Regions from separate parts of the Homo sapiens genome. Here region 2 is linked to region 1. The links are contacts of gene promoters, found by promoter capture Hi-C in blood cells and fetal thymus (Javierre and others, 2016). All regions are on one chromosome and are shown on one strand. The core of a region is centred on a gene start or on the middle of the fragment in contact, and the rest is flanking DNA. Distances in the headings are between cores, read along the strand shown.

Region 1 (2,745 bases), core at 132-2,631:
GAACATGGGAGTGCAGATACCTCTTTGACATACAAACTTCATTTCCTTTGAATATACTCACTAGAATTAGTGAATCTTATTTTATTCTAATATTCAAATTTAGTCTACCTACTGTCATGTATGTATATAAACAGATTTGAAACATTACACTAAGGATCATAACCAATTATAGTAGCCAAAAGATTAGCACCATGTAAGAGATATCATTAAATACAAATAGTTTTAAATCCTGAGTAATTTCTTCAAGAGGTACTGAGAATTTCCAATCACCAAGCAACCAACGGGAGAAAATTAAACAGTCTTTGGGTGGGCGGACTTGCCACGTGTTACGTATACCTGCAGCCTTTGTGCTCTGAGCAAACTGCCTCATGCAACCTCTGAAGCAAAAGCTGTAAAAATTCCTCCTCTAGATAGCAGCTAAGACAGGTGAGATTAAACCTAGCCCTAGCTAGTTGCAACAAACTGAATGTACGTGTAAACGTGTGTGTGTCCTGTACATGCATTCAAACACATTGCCTGGCCAGCAATTCCAACGTGTTCCAGAACAAGGCCAATCCAGTTACAAAGCAACACGCTCCCTAATTCACCAGGCCTTAGGAACTTCTGAGCGGCTATGTAACCTAGGCAACACCATCACTACGTTGAGCGCATTTTCCCAATGGCAAATTAAGAGAAAATGTTTGCTCATCTGAACGGACCTCTAAATTAAGAATCAGTAATAAGGCAAAAGCAATGAGCAAACAAGTCCCTTTAACGTATAAATAACACAGCACGTGCTGATATATTATCTCATGTGGCAAATATAGTTTCCTGGGGCCCAGCAGACGCATATCCCAGGATATGCTTTCCGAACTGTCCCATTGCAAACATAAAATATTTCATGCTAACTTGGTAGTGCAAAGGTGGCGTGGAAGTGCCACCAAATCAGGAGGCAAACCTAAAGGACGCCACAATTCCCGAACTAGAAATTTCCAGAAACTTCCGCACCACCGATGGCATTGATACAAGGGCGCTGGATCGATCTAGCCCTAGATCTCCGGGCCTGCTCCGGCGGACCAGCCTAGGCAGCCATCCCCTCCGCGAAACTGAGCAGTCACCGGCCGGAGCCGCATTCCGCCCTTGGAATCCCCCAAATCCCGGGAACCCCCGCCTCCTCGGGGCTTTTCCGCGAGCGTCAGACTCCGCTCACCTCGCTCCCCTCCGATGTCCACGTCAAAGAAGACTCGAGGGTTACTGGGGTTGGAGGGCTTGGCTTGGGGGGACGGGTGCGACATCTTGACTTGCAGACGTGTTTAGTACGGAATATCAGAGTACCTAGTGGCCGCCCGGGCCGCCCAAACTCCAGAGTCCGTCTCCGCCGGAGACCGGCAGCGACGCTGACCGGCCACTTCCGACGCAAGAACCGGAAGCCATGGCCTGACTTCCGGCACCGCCCCGCTCCCCCGCGCGGTGTTTCAAAGAGCCTGAGCGACTCCGTGCAGCGAACCGCGTGCCCTCCGCCACCTGTTCCTGGCTTCTCATTTAATGAAGTTGCGATCCCAGTTCTCATTATTCTTCTCGCTTGTGTTTCGTTGTCTTTCCCACCCTCGTGGCGTAGAGAGCTTTGGAGTCAACCCCATGCCAGCGTCAGCTCTGCCACCAAGTTGGGTGTGACTTCTCAGAAACTCAGTTTGCTCCTCTGGAAAAAGAATAAAAACGCTGACCTCGGAAGGTCGTTTTGAGGATTAAAGACATGAATCAGTACAATGCCTGGCATAAACTGGTGGTACCCAACCAATAGGAGCCTTATTATTGCCATGTCGTTACAATTTGATCTTCACATTACAATGTAAGTGGTAAGGCTTAGACTAAACGCTCCAAACAGCTAAAGCTGAGAGTCCAGAAGAGAGCACAGTTTTGATTCCTGATAAAACTGTATTTGGCGGGGCGCGGTGGCTCACGCCTGTAGTCCCAGCACATTGGGAGGCCGAGGCGGGCGGATCATTTGAGGTCAGGAGTTCGAGACCAGCCTGACCAACATGATGAAACCCGTCTCTACTAAAAATAAAAAAAAAAAAAATCACCCGGGCGTGGTGGTGCTTGCCTGTAGTCCCAGCTACTCGGGAGGCTGAGGCAGGAGAATCGCTTGAACCCGGGAGGCGGCGGTTGCAGTGAACCGAGATCGCGCCACTGTACTCCAGACTGGGTGACAGAGCGAAACTGTCCCCCCCCCCCCCAAAAAAAAGAAAAACAAAAAAATACTGTATTACTATAGCCCACTTTTCCCTTATGGGGATCTGTGTAAAACATTTACTTTTTACACACACACACACACACACACACACACACACACACACACATATATATGAGGAGAACATAGCCTTGCCTCTTAATAAAGCCTAATTTTGGAGAAGAGTGGCAATTCCCTGTGTAGATGCTTTGCCCTGTAGTTCTATTGGAGCTCAGCAATTTGGATTCAGCCTGAGGCTTACTTTATCAATAAGGCAGGAGATATCCTTAGATGCTTCACATTTTTTTTTCTTATGAGAAAGTAAAAAGTATTGGAATCCAGCACTCAAATAATGTCTCAAAAGCCAGGAGCCTTGTGTCAACAGCAGCAGCCAGAGTGGCTTTTTGGAAGGAAAGACCAGTGCTAATTTTCCCCTATCAGAGCTGTCACCATCCCTCTAGATGAAGGCTCCTGCCCTACTTGCTACCCGGTCTTAGGATAAGTAAAAGTTAGAAGGGTTACGGTTAAAGAACAAC
Region 2 (2,745 bases), core at 1-2,500, about 17 Mb after region 1:
CTGCCGCAGTCTGTGTCAAATACCCTTTTTCCTGGCCGGCGGCAGCCATGACGCTTTCTGGGTTGCTGCGGCAACAGCAGAAGGCGGGGCTGGGCCTTATTGCTGGCGGCGCGGTCTCGTGGGGCGGGGCGGAGTCTTATGGGGCGAGACCTCAGCGCCTGCGCAAGCGCCGCAGCAGCCGCCCGTACTTCCGCTTTACTCAGATTTTGGACCGCGGGGCCGGGTATCGAGGGAGGCAAAGCTGGGGTCCCAGTGGTGTGGCTGCGGTCTGGGGAGCGCTTTCAGTCTCAGATTTAGTTGGCCTCACTGTTAACCTATTTAGAGCTTTTTTTTTCTTATGTCATCGTTCATAAGTTTTGTATTTTAAATATTGTTGGTTTCTGCCCAGCCAAAGGCCTATTTTCAGTCGTCTAGTTTGAGGAGTGGTGTGAGAAGACTCCAGAGGCCAAGGACAGTTTTTGTTTGGGAATTGGAAGAGATGGGGGAAAAAAATCTTTGAAATGGAAATGAATGTCCACAAAATTTAACATAACTATTTCCTTAATTATTGCATTAAGTATTTGTAAACATTAATATTTGAAAACGATGTGTAGGTTAGATTTTCACACTTAATTAAAATCTCCTAGTAGGCATAATTCCTTCATTAATTCAACAAATATGTATTGAGTCCATATTATGTGCCACGCATTCATCTAGTCACTTGGGATCTATCTGAACACAATGAAAACAACTGCAAAGTTGGCATAGGCAATTATAAATATGTAAGCTTAATTATTAAAATCCATTAAAAATTTTTACAGCCACAGTTTTTTGTTTTTTGTTTTTTGTTTTTTGTTTTTTTTTGCTTGGCAGGGCACAGTGGGTCATGCCTGTAATCCCAGCACTTTGGGTGGTGGAGGCGGGAGGATCGTTTGAGCTCAGGAGTTCAAGACCAGCCTGGGCAACACAAGGTGGAGAGACTTTCGCTACAAAACAAACAAACAAACAAAATAGCTGGGTGTGGTGGTGCACACCTGTACTCTCAAGTACTCCAGATGCTGAGGTGGGAGGATTGCTTGAGCTCAGGAACTTGAGGCTGCAGAGAGCCAGGTGACAGGCCCTGTGGATACATACACATGGTAAAATATGGGATAGATCTTGATAATGATACTATGTAATATTTTTAATGTTTATTCATATACATGCTTATTAATAAAGTAAACCAGTGTATTCTGTATGTGGTTAAAAAAGAAAACCAAAACTGAAGCTATGTAAGTGTTTTCTGTTAGGCTAAAAAAGTTTTAATGAATGATTCATTCATTCTGTAAACCTTTTCTGAGGAACTATCCTGGAGTATGTGCTAGATCTTTACCATCCAATATGGTAGCCACTAGCCACATGTGGCTATTTAAACTTAAATTTAAATAAACTCAGTTCCACTGGCTACATTTTACCTGCTCAATAGCCATATGTAGCTAGTGGCTGCCATGTTGGGTAGGACAGACACAGCACTGTTCCATCACTACAGGAATTTCGATTGGACAGCTCTGTGCGGCAGATCATTTATAAGAGATTCAGAGATAGAAATATCAGTGAAAAGATTACATACACTGAAAAGCTCTGCCATGGTAAAAATATGTTAGCACCAGAAAGGAAGCAAATACTTTGGCCTGGGAGAGTGTAAGAAGTCCTCTCAAAAGAGATGACCATTAATTTGGATCTTAGAAGGTGGTATTTTAAGCTGATTTTTAAGATGAAAGCTTTGAATAGCCATTTCTACTGTGAAAGGAAATTAAATCTTGGGACCCCCCCCACCTCCCCCAAATCACTAAGCTAAAGGGAAAAGTCAAAGTGGGAACTGCTTAGGGCAAACCTGCCTCCTATTCTATTCAAAGTCACCGCTTAGCTCACTGAGCTAAATGCATACCTGATTGCCTACTCTGGAAAGGCTCATCAGAAACTCAACAGAATGCAACCATTTGTCTCCCATCTACCTATGACCTGGAAGCCCCCTCCCTGCTTGAGTTGTCCTGCCTTTGCTTCTAGTTGTCCCACCTTTTCCAGACCAAATCAATGTTCATCTTCCACATGTCGACTGAAGTCTCATGTCTCCCTAAAATGTATAAAACCAAACTGCCCTGACCACCTTGGGCACATGTCAGGACCTCCTAAGGCTGTGTCACGGGTGCTCATCCTCAACCTTGGCAAAATAAACTTTCTAAATTAACTGAGACCTGTCTCAGAGTTTCTGGGTTCACACTACCTTTTATTAGCTATATGACTTTGGGCAAGTTATTTAACATTTGTATTTGTAAAATATGGAAATAAATAGGATACACCACAGAGCTGTAGAGATTAAATAAGTGAAATCTATAAAGAGCCTAAAACAATGTGCAGCACGTAGTGCTCAGTAAGCATAGATGATTGCTTCAAAGGTGATCTTGGAAATTTATTTGGATGATGAAGGGGCAATCTCACACAGAGTGACTAATGGGAGCAATTGCATAGAAATATGAGGGGTTTTTTAAATGAGTTTTAGGAAAGAACAGAACCCATTAGGGTTAGAGAAAGTGTTTAGGCATTATCAACCAAAGAGACATTGTCAACCAAAGGTTTAGATGATAATGGCTAGAGAGGTAGGTTAGATCTATAGGTTAGGGTTTATTTGTTTTTGTTTTTGAGACAGAGTCATGCTGTTGCGCAGGCTGGAGTGCGGTGGCGTGCTCAGGGCTCACTGCAGCCTTGACCTCCTGGACTCAAGTGAAC

The links. Contacts are between HindIII fragments. The CHiCAGO score rates a contact against its expected background, and 5 or more counts as called.
Region 2: a contact is called between a fragment that was not itself captured here and the fragment with the promoter of PPID in region 1, in 1 of 17 cell types (non-activated CD4 T cells). The highest score is 7.3, in non-activated CD4 T cells.

Annotation. Positions count from the first base shown.
Region 1 is chr4:158,722,015-158,724,759 of GRCh38, forward strand. It overlaps PPID (peptidylprolyl isomerase D), which reads right to left and starts at 1,382. Exons shown (of 10, transcript NM_005038.3): 1 at 1,190-1,382. The coding sequence starts at 1,274. RefSeq lists enhancers at 792-1,375, 1,009-1,488, 1,376-1,960. The HindIII fragment of the contact is 3,604 bases long and covers 1-2,745 here.
Region 2 is chr4:176,195,514-176,198,258 of GRCh38, forward strand. It overlaps SPATA4 (spermatogenesis associated 4), which reads right to left and starts at 72. Exons shown (of 6, transcript NM_144644.4): 1 at 1-72. The coding sequence starts at 49. The HindIII fragment of the contact is 973 bases long and covers 765-1,737 here.